2 separate regions of the Homo sapiens genome follow, and region 2 is linked to region 1. Evidence: promoter capture Hi-C in human tissues and cell types (Jung and others, 2019). All regions are on one chromosome and are shown on one strand. The core of a region is centred on a gene start or on the middle of the fragment in contact, and the rest is flanking DNA. Distances in the headings are between cores, read along the strand shown.

Region 1 (6,873 bases), core at 1,408-3,907:
TGCATATGGCTAGCCAGTTTTCCCAACACCATATATTAAATAGGGAACCCTTTCCCCATTGCTTGTTTTTGTCAGGTTTATCAAAGATCAGATAATTGTAGATAAGTGGTGTTATTTCTGAGGCCTCTGTTCTGTTCCATTGGTCTGTATATCTGTTTTGGTACCAGCACCATGCTGTTTTGGGTACTGTAGCCTTGTAGTGTAGTTTGAAGTCAGGTAGCATGATGCCTCCAGCTTTGTTCTTTCTGCTTAGGATTGCCTTGGCAATGGGGGCTCTTTTTTTATTCCATATGAAATTTAAAGTAGTTTTTTCTAATTCTGTGAAGAAAGTCAATGGTAGCTTGATGGGAATAGCATTGAATCTATAAATTACTTTGGGCAGTACGGCCATTTTTACTATATTGTTTCTTCCTATCCATGAGCATGGAATTTTTTTCCATTTCTTTGTGTCCTCTTTCATTTTGTTGAGCAGTGGCTTGTAGTTCTCCTTGTAGAGGTCCTTCACATCCCTTGTAAGCAGTATTCCTAGGTATTTTATTTTCTTTGTAGCAATTGTGAATGGGAGTTCACTCATGATTTGGCTTTCTGTTTCTCTATTATTGGTGTGTAGGAATGCTTGTGATTTTTGCACATTGATTTTGTATCCTGAGACTTTGCTGAAGTTGCTTATCAGCTTAGGGAGATTTTGGACTGAGATGATGGGGTTTTCTAAATATACAGTCATGTCATCTGCAAACAGAGACAATTTGACTTCCTCTCTTCCTATTTGAATACCCTTTACTTCTTTCTCTTACCTGGCCAGAACTTCCAATACAAGCGAAAAACAAACAACCCCATTAAAGACACAGACACTTCTCTAAAGAAGACATATGAGCAGCCAAAAAATATTTTTAAAAATGCTCAACATCACTAATGAGAAATGTGAATCAAAACCACATCTCACACAAGTCAGAATGGCTATTATTAAAAAGTTTCAAAGCAACATATGCTGGCTAAGCTGCAGAAAAAAAACATAATGTGTATACATTGTTTGTGGAAATGTAAATTAGTTCCGCCACTGTGGAAAGCAGTTTGGAGATTTCTCAAAGAACTTAAAATAGAACTACTATTTGACCCAGCAATCCCAATATTAGCTATATATCAAAAAGAAAATAAGTTGCTCTACCAAAAAGACACCTCTACTCATACATTCATCACAGCACTATTCGCAATAGCAAAGACATGGCATCAACCTTGGTGCCCATCAATGGTGGACTGGATAAAGAAAATGTGATACATATACACAGTGGAATACTAGACAGCTATAAAAAAATAAAGAAATCATGTTCTTTGCAGCAACATGGATGAATTGGGAGGCAATAATCCTAAGCAAATTAACACAGCAACAGAAAACCAAATACCGCATGTTCTCACTTATAAGTGGGAACTACATTTTGGATACTTATGGACATAAATATGGGAACAATAGACACTGGGGACTACTAAAGGGGTAGGTACAGATATGAGTAAGCATTGGAAATTTGACTAATATATACCATACTCACTACCTGAGTGGCAGAATCATTTGTATCCAAACCCTCAGCATCACACAATACACCAGTGTAAAAAACCTGCATACGTACCTGAATCTAAAATAAAAGTTGAAATTATAAAAAGAGGAAAAAAAGAATGCTCATGCACAGATATGCATGTAAAAATGCCAGGGAGGGTTAATTCATAGCAACAGTTGCTATTTAACCTACTTTACTTGAGGTTGGCAAAGCAATCATTTTTTAAATATTAATTTCTGTTTAGTACAGATTGTCCTTGGTCAGGACTCCTAAACAGAGTGCAAAGTTCTGATTGTGTAATTACATACTATTGTAGGGTGAAAGAGAATTGGTAAACAGGCTCCTGCTGTGACTATAGTACTAGACTGAAGTAGGACTAAAATTGCTCTAGGACTTACTCTGGTAGAAAAGGTAGACCTATCAATAGGGGAAAAAGTCATACCTAACATGATGTAGAATTTTTTTAAATTGTCATGTATATGAATTGAGAAAAAAAATCATGCTATGCATATTATGAGACCAGTTTCCCCAATGGAATAAAATAAAGTACTTGAACAGCTGCTATATTAGCATCTGTTTGTCCATATCATCATCCAGTTACTAGAAAGACATAATTCCCACTCTTCACTCAATATATAGATGGAAGTGGTTTTTATGGTAAATAAAATTAGATTTGCAATAAGACAAAAGTAATGATTCAGGGCTTGGTTAATGTTAAGTTTAAATGTACATATCATGTTGAGAATTTTCTTTGAACACATAACAAAAAAAAAGTGCTACTGAATGAACATTATTGCAATGTAGTAAAGCAGAATGCAAATTCCTTGAGGTCAGCATTCAAGTCTGTTTTCCTCGCAGCGGTGCCCACACACCTAGCATACTGCCTGGCACACAGTAAATGCTCATTAAATATTTGTGAGGTACATGGACAGGGGAATGTGGTAGACAGCTGATGAAGCTTTTCTCCCACTGTTGCCCTAGGTGGATCATCCATAGTCAATTGATTCTGAACTCTGAGGTCCAAGTTCTGCCCTCCTCCTTCACTCTCCCCACAAGTGGGCGGGACAATCCTCCCTGGATTTGAGCACAGGGGGACGGGGGTGGTCAGAGAGAGGTAGGGGCACTCAGAGATCCAGCAGGTGCTGCACCATGAGTGTCTCTGTGCTGAGCCCCAGCAGACTCCTGGGTGATGTCTCTGGAATCCTCCAAGCGGCCTCCCTGCTCATTCTGCTTCTGCTGCTGATCAAGGCAGTTCAGCTCTACCTGCACAGGCAGTGGCTGCTCAAAGCCCTCCAGCAGTTCCCGTGCCCTCCCTCCCACTGGCTCTTCGGGCACATCCAGGAGGTAGGGAGGAACTCAATGGGGGAGTGGGAGGGCAAAGAGGGATGGGGCTCTGAGACCCTGGTCACAAAATCCATAGAGCAAAGCCTTGTTTTGTAACAAATGTGAGGACTCAAAGGAACACCCAGCCTACCTCTCTGGTCTCAGCTTTTCCCAGTCATGAGGAGCTCACTTCTCCCATGAAGCCCATCCTGCTGGTCCTCAGCTCTATCACCCGTGCCCTCCTTCTGCAGATATCAAGTGTGTCTTGGCAGTCCTGCATGTGGAGGGCAATGCCTGATTGTCTCCAGACTGATTACCCCATAAGCCTTGGCTTTCATCAAAGAACAAGGCTTCTAGATGCTCTCTGCCCAGTCACTCAATGCCATCACTCTGCCTGGCCCTGTGTTTGCCAGGGAGCACAGACACCCATCTGAGGAATCCATGCCATGAGGAGTTTATGGTCTGTGAAGAATACAGGCAGGAATTTGAGAAGGTGTCAGACTGCAGGAAAGGAGCTCACTCTGCTGGGGTGGATATCTGAGGCAGAGATCTGCTGGTATAGGGGACCAACTGGCTAAGTAAGTTTCCCCAAGACTCACGGAATTTCCACAACAGGTGATTTAGGATCTGAAAACCTGACAATTATGGGTACACATGAGGGGGGCAGCCTGCACAATGTTCTCCAGGTGAGGAGACTGGTGTTTGAGTTGCACATTGAACAGGGTGTGTTGACCTCCTGGCTCTCCTCCCACACACCCGGACTGTGAGCTCCCTGGCGGTGAGCATGTCATCCCCTTCCTGTGCCCCGGCAATCAGCAAAATCCTGGCACAGCTTGATGATCAGCTCAGGTGTGTAGAGCAAGCTTGTCCAACCCACGCCCCATGGGGCTGCATGTAGCTCAGGATGGCTTTGAATGTGGCCCAACACAAATTCGTAAACTTTCTTAAAACGTTATGAGATTATTTTGCAATTTTTTTGAGTTCATCAGCTATCATTAGTGTTAGTGTATTTTATGCATGGCTCAAGACAATTATTTTTCTTCCAATGTGGCCTAGGAAAGCCAAAAGATTGGACACACCAGGTGTAGAGGAACAGAGGAAGAAGAGAAAGGAGCAGCAAGAGGGCTGAGGAGGGACACAGCCCATCCCCTGTGCACTGCTATCCCTACAAGGGGAGGGGGGCGGGTAGGAACAGAGCAGGTAAACGGCTGCATGGAGAGGGACTCACCAAGGTGCTATGAATTGAACACACTTAAGTAGAGATAGGGGTTGCAGGGAACTGAGGCCTATTGTTTCTCAGCAAAGGAGGCAACATAGTTCTCAGCAGAGCAGAACAAATGTGGGGACCTGCCAAAGTTCTAACCCTATATGGACTGGTCCCAATACCACTCTGCCTTCTTTCCCATTCTCCTCTTTTACCATATGTTACTCACTACCTCACTACCTGCCTCTGCATTTCAACCTTTAGGTCTCTGATCACACTATGCTTGCTACCTGGAATTATCTTCTCACGCATATCTATCTGTCAAGGCCCAGCACCAAGCTACCTCCTTCAAGAAGGCCTCCTGGGTCTCCCAGTAGTGAAGGGCTGACTCTTTTTTCCATGAGCTATCCTTCTCAAGAGGCCAGAGCAGTGTTAACTTGACTCAGTTATTGTTCTGCAGTGTCATAAGTGTGGGATTCTTCTGGGAGAGACCATCTCTGATTTATGTTTGTAACCCAATAGTCCCTCAGTAAATGATGACTCAGTGAGTGAGGAAGAGCTTTCTAATGTTCAGTTCTGAGTTAGGTCCCTCTTCAAAGCTTCCCCAGATGCTTGTCCTTCATTCCATATCATGTCCATTATCCCCTACTGCACAGCCTCTAATCTTTCTTACCCCCCAACTAGACTGAAAATTCCACACAGATAAGGACCACAGCTGTATCCTAACGCAGTGCCTGAGCCACACTGGGCACATAGTATGTGTGCAGTAAGCATGGGCTGAATGAAGGAGCCTACCCCACAGTAGGGCAAGCTGCCTCAGAGCTGGACAATATGATTATCAGAAGGAGATGGGCAGATATTCGATACCTATGTGGTAGACAGTTGCTTTGATTTACTAGAAGCAGTTGAAATAAAGAAGAGTTGGCTACATGGAACATCACTAGGACCCAATGTCTTTGAGGGTTCCAGATGAGATTAAAGCAAAGCTGAGTCTTGAAAGCTGAGGAGAGGTGGCTGCTCTGTGGCAGAGGGGAAGGGCATTCAAGGTAGAGAAAAGAGCAAGTGCCAGGGCCCAGAAGAGTGAGCAGGTGTAGCTGGTGTGCGATTCAGCAGCAGTGGTGGCATCGGCATTGGAGCTGAAACAAACGGGTGATGGTGGAATTGCCAGCAGGGCTGGAGGCAAGAAAAGAGAAGTTGAAGCCAGAAAGCCAAGGGCTTTGTGATCCACATCGAAGAGTTTAGAAAGATGACTGCAGGCAGCAGGGAGCTCATAATTCGTTGATAAGTGAAAATGAGAATAAGAAACCCAAATCTCAAAATTATTGTCCAACACCAGCACCATATGCATATACTCAGACTCCATCCCATAAATCTGTACATATTCAACATGTAGAATACTATTATGCACACAATTTTATAGTTAATCTTTTTTTGCTTACCAATACACATCCCAAATGCTATTTTATCTTAACAAATATTTACCGTATATGCTGGGATAATATTGAAAATATAACAAGTATGATTATATAAAGGCATTGTGTAATTTAAAATGTTTACATTAATTCATTTTATTCTCTAGATATACTAAATGATTTTACAAATCTACTTATCAACTAATATGAGTTATACACATTGCCCATGGAAATTGTTGTATTTATGACTTCCAGAGATGTTACACAACATGAAGACAATGGCTGACTTAAATTTCTGCTGGCAGCATTGAGCGAGGGCTCATAGCGCTTGGCCTAAGGTCAAGTCCTGGGGAGAGAGCAAGAATCTGGATCACAGCTCAGGTCATCAGAAACAGATCTAAATCCCTAACCTGCGCTACATGGCTCCTGTAGTTGTCCTGCCCTTCACTCCTGCTGCAAAGACTAGAAGTAAATGAAAGTGTTCATCTGTCTACCCTTGTTGACAGCTCCAACAGGACCAGGAGCTACAACGGATTCAGAAATGGGTGGAGACATTCCCAAGTGCCTGTCCTCATTGGCTATGGGGAGGCAAAGTTCGTGTCCAGCTCTATGACCCTGACTATATGAAGGTGATTCTGGGGAGATCAGGTGAGATCGAACCCCCATCCCAACTGCAATGTGTCTTCCCTCTTGACACATGCTCCTGGGTCTGTAAAATTCCAGAAGAGAGTGGCTGTTCAAACATCAATATCTGAAACCTCTCCCACGCATCCACCAAGCCCACCATGCCCAGGCTATAGTCAAAAATAGTTACTGAACTCCGAATGTTTAAAACAATATGTGGGGCTGAATTTTCTATTCTTTTTTCTATTTCTCTATTAAGAAAATTGAGGTTTTCTGAAATGTAAATTGTCCCAGATCTGTAAAACAAATTTCATACCCACATTGACCTGGGTTTCAAAGCTCTAATTGTTGCCTGTCTTGGTCAGGAGGTGACTAGGAAATCATCAATGTAGAAAAACCCATGGCTCTATGTTATTCATTGTCATTGAAGACCTAGCCTATGTTTCTCACCAATTCACCTTCCTAACCCTCTGGATGTTTTCCTGCTGGAACACTGAGTCTGTCTTCCTGAGCCCACACTGACCTTCAGGACAGAAATAGAAGTGGATGGGAGTCAAGTGGGAGGTGACATGGGTCAAACTGCCAACTGACAGACACCAAGAATTGATGCAGCCTCTAAGACTGCCTTCTTAGTAACTCCTAGTTTCCTATAAAGCCCTTTCTTGCCTTTCAGACCCGAAATCCCATGGTTCCTACAGATTCCTGGCTCCATGGATTGGTATGTGTGCAAACTAGGACTGCAGCCCACTCCCTAGTCAGG
Region 2 (6,873 bases), core at 3,089-5,588, 38 kb before region 1:
CCCACATGGAGCCCCAAGGGCCTTGTACTCCTGAGCACTCCTGCACCAGCTGCTGTAGCTCTGCCAACAAGGGAGGCCTGGCTCTCTTGCATGCCCTCAGGATAGGGGCTGTACCAATGATGCTGAGGGGTGAACAGACTGCAGGCATAGCATCCACTATACCTTGCCAAATAAAGCCCACTGACCTGGGACCCCAGTGAAGCCACCCCACTCCCCACCACAGCACTCGGACCAGTGGCAGCTCTGTATTATCTGGGCTGGAGCTCCCAGAGGTAATGGACATGCCCACCATTTTTGCCACTGCTGTAGCTCCCACCTCTACTGCCCTCAGGCTGGGAGGAAGCAAGAAGCCTAAGGACTATCACGGGCCTTGAGAACACTGCAACTGCCTTACAGAAATGTGCCCAGACTGTTTTCCATGCACGTCCCTGCCTCTGCTACTCATCACTGGGCAGGTTTTCCCGACCTGGGTCTCCAGCACAGCCGCCCTGCCCCCACCTGAGCACTTCAGTCAGTGGCGGCTCTGCATTTCTGTAGGGAGGAAATCCCAGAGACAATCCACAGGCTCTCTGCCATTGCAGCTGCAGTGGAACTGCCCTTGCTGTCCTCTGGCTGGGAAAGAAACAAAGACCCTGATCATTTTGCTGGCAACTCTAACATGGCACAATGGCTAGATGAAAAGGAGCCCAGTCTCTCTTCCCTGTGAGCTCCCAATTCCCTGCTCTTCACCAGATATGGCCTTGGCTAGCATCCACAATGCAGCCACCCCATCCCCTGCTGAATGCTTCCATAGGCACCGGCTCTATGTCTCTCTGTGGTGGAGTTGCCAGAGGCAACAGACATGCCCTCTGCCACTGCAGCAATACCCACCCTTGCTGCCACCAGGCTGGGGAAGGAACAAAGAGCCTGAGTGCTTTACTTGCACTTCCAGCACACCATAGCCACCCTATAGAGAAAAGGCCAGACGGCCTTTCCCACAAGCTCCCCACCCCACCACGTGTCCCCAGGCAGGGCCCCCAGGCTTGGACCTGCAACACAACCACCCCACCTTGGGCTGATCATTCTGATTGGCAGCAGCTATGCAATTCTGTAGGATGAAGCCCCAGAGACCAGTTAAAAGTCCTTTGCCATTGCCACTGCCAACGTCCCCATCACTGCTGTCCCCAAGATGGGGAGGTAACAAAAAGCCTGAGCTCACTCCAGGATTGTAGTGTGCAGCCCAGGAGTGCCAAGCTGAGATCTACAGCCAGCACCTGAGTGGGACAGAAGCCCACATGCTCAGAGCACTGAGAAGGAGCACAGCTGCAGATGTGAGGAAATATATAGGAGCCACATGGCTGAGCAAGAGCCTACCTACTGGCCATTATGCTTAAGTGTCATTACTGGAACGCAGCCCTAACTTCAACACCAAATATACTTTCTTAATATAACTCCCTGTGAAATCAAGGACAAGAATCCTGCCACAAATAAAAAGCCTGCCCAAAGCCTCAGCCCTCTGAAAACATCCAGAAACAAAGCCAATTGACTACACTACTCCACAGTTAAAAGAACATCAGCCCACACAAGATGAGAAAGAACCAACGCAAGAACTCTGGCAATTCTAGAAGCCAGAGTGTCTCGCTACATCCAAATGACCATGCTAACTCCCCAGCAATGGTTCTTAACTAGAAAGAAATGGCTGAGATGACAGAAAGAAATGGCTGAGATGACAGACACGGAATTCAAAACCTGGATGTTATCAAATATCGAGATTCAGGAGAAAGTTGAAACTCATTCCAAGGAATCAAAGGAATTCAGTAAAATGATTCAAGAGATGAAAGATAAAATAGGCATTTTAAGAAAGAACCAAACTGAGCTAATAGAGCTGAAAAAACATAGTACAATAATTTTATTATTACACAAATGGATTTTTTTCTTTTTTTATTATATTTTAAGTTCTAGGGTACATGTGCACAAAGTTCAGGTTTGTTACATATGTATACATGTGCCATGTTGATTTGCTGCACCCAGTAACTTGTCATTTACATTAGGTATTTCTCCTAATGCTATCCCTCCCCCATCTCCCCATCTATGACAGGCCCTGGTGTGTGATGTTCCCCACCCTGTGTCCAAGTGTTCTCATAGTTCAATTCCCACCTATGAGTGAGAACAAGTGGTGTTTGGTTTTCTGTCCTTGTGATAGTTTGCGCAGAATGATGGTTGCCAGCTTCATCTATGTCCATACAAAGGACATTAACTTATCCTTGTTTAAAGCTGCATAGTATTCCATGGTGTATATATGCCACATTTTCTTAATCCAGTCTATCACTGATGGACATTTGTGTTGGTTCCAAGTCTTTGCTACTGTGAATAGTGCCGCAATAAACATACATGTGCATGTGTCTTTATAGTAGCATGATTTATAATCCTTTGGGTATATACCCAGTAATGAGATGGCTGGGTCAAATGGTATTTCTAGTTCTAGATCCTTGAGGAATCACCACACTGTCTTTCACAATGGTTGAACTAGTTTACACTCCCACCAACAGTGTAAAAGTGTTCCTATTTCTCCACATCCTCTCCAGCACCTGTTGTTTCCTGACTTTTTAATGATCGCCATTCTAACTGGTGTGAGATGGTATCTCATTGTGGTTTTGATTTGCATTTCTCTGATGACCAGTGATGATGAGCTTTTTTTCATGTGTCTTTTGGCTGCATAAATGTCTTCTTTTGAGAAGTGTCTGTTCATATCCTTTGCCCACTTTTTGATGGAGTGTCTGATTTTTTTCTTGTAAATTTGTTTATGTTCTTTGTAGATTCTGGATATTAGCCCTTGTTAGATGGGTAGATTGCAAAAATTTTCTCCCATTCTGTAGGTGGCCTGTTCACTCTGATGGTAGTTTCTTTTGCTGTGCAGAAGCTCTTTAGTTTAATTAGATCCCATTTGTCAATTTTGGCTTCTGTTGCCATTGCTTTTGGTGTTTTAGTCATGAAGTCCTTACCCGTGCCTATGTTCTGAATGGTATTGCCTAGGTTTTCTTCTAAGGTTTTTATGGTTTTAGGTCTAATATTTAAGTCTTTAATCCATCTTGAATTAAATTTTGTATAAGGTGCAAGGAAGGGATCCAGTTTCAGCTTTCTACATATGGCTAGGCAGTTTTCCCAGCACCATTTATTTTTAAATAGGGAATCCTTTCCCCATTTCTTGCTTTTGTCAGGTTTGGCAAAGATCAGATGGTGTAGATGTGTGGTGTTATTTCTGAGGCCTCTGTTCTGTTCCATTGATCTATATCTCTGTTTTGGTACCAGTACCATGCTGTTTTGTTTACTGTAGCCTTGTAGTATAGTTTGAAGTCAGGTAGTATGATGTCTCCAGCTTTGTTCTTTTTGCTAAGTATTGTCTTGGCAATATGGGCTCTTTTTTGGTTCCATATGAACTTTAAAGTAGCTTTTTCTAATTCTGTGAAGAAAGTCATTGGTAGCTTGATGGGGATGGCATTGAATCTATAAATTACACCTTGGGCAGTATGGCCATTTTCACGATATTGATTTTTCCTATCCATGAGCATGGAATGCTCTTCCATTTGTTTGTGTCCTCTTTTATTTCATTGAGCAGTGGTTTGTAGTTCTCCTTGAAGAGGTCCTTCACATCCCTTGTAAGTTGGATTCCTAGGTATTTTATTCTCTTTGTAGCAATTGTGAATGGGAGTTCATTCATGATTTGCCTCTCTGTTTGTCTGTTATTGGTGTATAAGAATGCTTGTGATTTTTGCACATTGATTTTGTATCCTGAGACTTTGCTGAAGTTACTTATCAGCTTAAGGAAATTTTGGGCTGAGATGATGGTGTTTTCTAAATATAAAATCATGTCAACTGCAAACAGGGACAATTTGACTTCATCTTTTCCTAACTGAATACACTTTCTTTTTTTCTCTTGCCTGATGGTCCTGGCCAGAACTTCCAACACTATGTTGAATAGGGGTGGTGAGAGAGGGCACCCCTGTCTTGTGCCAGTTTTCAAAGGGAATGCTTCCAGTTTTGCCCATTCAGTATGATATTGGCTGTGGGTTTGTCATAAATAGCTCTTATTATTTTGAGATATGTTCCATCAATACCTAATTTATTGAGAGTTTTTAGCATGAAGAGTTCTTGAATTTTGTTGAAGGCCTTTTCTGCATCTATTGAGATAATCATGTGGTTTTTGTCATTGGTTCTGTTTATGTGATGGATTAAGTTTATTGATTTGCATATGTTCAACCAGCCTTGCATTCCAGGAATGAAGCCAACTTCATCTTGGTGGATAAGCTTTTTGATGTGCTGCTGGATTCGGTTTGCCAGTATATTATTGAGGATTTTCGCATCGATGTTCATCAGGGATGTTGGTCTAAAATTCTCTTTTTTTATTGTGTCTCTGCCAGGCTTTGGTATCAGGATGATGCTGGCCTCATAAAATCAGTTAGGGAGGATTCCCTCTTTTTTGTATTGATTGGAATAGTTTCAGAAGGAACAGTACCAGCTCCTCTTTGTACCTCTGGTAGAATTCGGCTGTGAATCTGTCTGGTTGTGGACTCTTTTTGGTTGGTAGGCCAGTAATTATTGCCTCAATTTCAGAACCTGTTATGGGTCTATTCAGTGATTCAACTTCTTTCTGGTTTAGTCGTGGGAGGGTGTATGTCTCCAGGAATTTATCCATGTCTTCTAGGTTTTGTAATTTATTTGCATAGAGATGTGTATAGTATTCTCTGACGGTAGTTTGTATTTCTGTGGGATCAGCGGTGATATCCCCTTTATCATTTTTTATTGCGTCTATTTGATTCTTCTCTCTTTTCTTCTTTATTAGTCTTGCTAGTGGTCTATCAATTTTGTTGATCTTTTCAAAAAACCAGCTCCTGGATTCCTTGATTTTTTGAAGGGGTTTTTGTGTCTCTATCTCCTTCAGTTCTGCTCTGATCTTAGTTATTTCTTGCCTTCTGCTAGCTTTTGAATGTGTTTGCTCTTGCTTCTCTAGTTCTTTTAATTGTGATGTTAGGAGATTGATTTTAGATCTTTCCTGGTTTCTCTTGTGGGCATTTAGTGCTATAAATTTCCCTCTACACCCTCCTTTAAATGTGTCCCAGAGATTCTGGTATGTTGTGTCTTTGTTCTCACTGGTTTCAAAGAACATCTTTATTTCTGCCTTCATTTCGTTATGTACCCAGTAGTCATTCAGGAACAGGTTGTTCAATTTCCATGTAGTTGTGCAGTTTTGAGTGAGTTTCTTAATCCTGAGCTCTAATTTGATTGCACTGTGGTCTGAGAGACAATTTGTGGTAATTTCTGTTCTTTTACATTTGCTAAGGGGTGCTTCACTTCCAACTATGTGGTCAATTTTGGAATAAATATGATGTGGTCCTGAGAAGAATGTATATTCTATTGATTTGGGGTGGAGAGTTCTGTAGATGTCTATTAGGTCTGCGTGGTGCAGAGCTGAGTTTAAGTCCTGGATATCCTTGTTAACCTTCTGTCTCATTGATACATCTAATATTGACAGTGGGGTGTTAAAGTCTCCCATTATTGTGTGGGAGTCTAAGTCTCTTTGTAGGTCTCTAAGGACTTGCTTTATGAATCTGGGTGCTCCTGTATTGGGTGCATATATGTTTAGAATAGTTAGCTCTTCTTGTTGAATTGATCCCTTTACCATTGTTGTAATGGTCTTCTTTGTATCTTTTGATCTTTGTTGGTTTGAAGTCTGTTTTTTCAGAGACTAGGATTGCAACCCCTGCCTTTTTTTTGCTTTCCATTTGCTTGGCAGAACTTCCTCCATCCCTTTATTTTGAGCCTTTGTGTGTTGCTGCACATGAGATGGGTCTCCTCAATACAGCACACTGATGGGTCTTGACTCTTTATCCAATTTGCCAGTCTGTGTCTTTTAATTGGAGCATTTAGCCCATTTACATTTAAGGTTAATATTGTTATGCATGAATTTGATCCTGTCATTATGATGTTAGCTGGTTATTTTGCTCATTAGTTGATGCAGTTTCTTCCTAGCATTGATGGTCTTTACAATCTGGCATGTTTTTGCAGTGGCTGGTACTGGTTGTTCCTTTCCATCTTTAGTGCTTCCTTCAGGAGCTCTTGTAAGGCAGTCCTGGTGGTGACAAAATCTCTCAGCATTTGCTTGTCTGTAAAGTATTTTATTTCTCCTTCTCTTATGAAGCTTAGTTTGGCTGGATATGAAATTCTGGGTTGAAAATTCTTTTTTTTAAGAATGTTGAATATTGACCCCCACTCTTTCCTGGCTTGTAGAGTTTGTGCCGAGAGATCAGCTGTTAGTCTGATGGGCTTCCCTTTATTGGTAACCCGACCGTTCTCTCTGGCTGTCTTAACATTTTTTCCCTCATTTCAACCTTGGTGAATCTGACAATTATGTGTCTTGGGGGTGCTCTTGTCGTGGAGTATCTTTTTGTTGGTCTCTGTATTTCCTGAATTTGGATGTTGGCCTACCTTGCTAGGTTGGGGAAGTTCTCCTACATAATATCCTGAAGAGTGTTTTCCAACTTGGCTCCATTCTCTCGGTCACTTTCGAGTACACCAATCTGATGTAGATTTGATCTTTTCACATAGTCCCATATTTCTTGGAGGCTTTGTTCATTTCTTTTTACTCCTTTTTCTCTAAACTTCTCTTCTTACTTCATTTCAATAATTTGATCTTCAATCACTGATACCCTTTCCTCCACTTGATCGAATTGTCTACTGAAGCTTGTGCATGTATCACATAGTTCTCGTGCCATGGTTTTCAGCTCCATTGGGTGATTTAAAGTCTGCTCTACACTGTTTATTCTAGTTAGCCATTCATCTAATCTCTTTTCAAGGCTTTTTGCTTCCTTGTGATGGGTTTGAACATCCTCCTTTAGC

Evidence for each region. Contacts are between HindIII fragments. The study calls those that stand out against the background at their distance.
Region 2: a contact is called between a fragment that was not itself captured here and the fragment with the promoter of CYP4A11 in region 1, in 4 of the 25 tissues and cell types used here (aorta, liver, ovary and 1 more).

The regions. Positions count from the first base shown.
Region 1 is chr1:46,937,260-46,944,132 of GRCh38, reverse strand. CYP4A11 (cytochrome P450 family 4 subfamily A member 11) reads left to right here and starts at 2,657. Exons shown (of 12, transcript NM_000778.4): 1 at 2,657-2,894; 2 at 5,996-6,137; 3 at 6,787-6,831. The coding sequence starts at 2,700. The HindIII fragment of the contact is 9,397 bases long and covers 1-4,206 here.
Region 2 is chr1:46,977,180-46,984,052 of GRCh38, reverse strand. It overlaps a transcript of CYP4X1 not described here. Among named protein-coding and RNA genes, the nearest start is that of CYP4A11, 39 kb to the right of the region's middle. RefSeq lists an enhancer at 1-696. The HindIII fragment of the contact is 5,350 bases long and covers 1,664-6,873 here.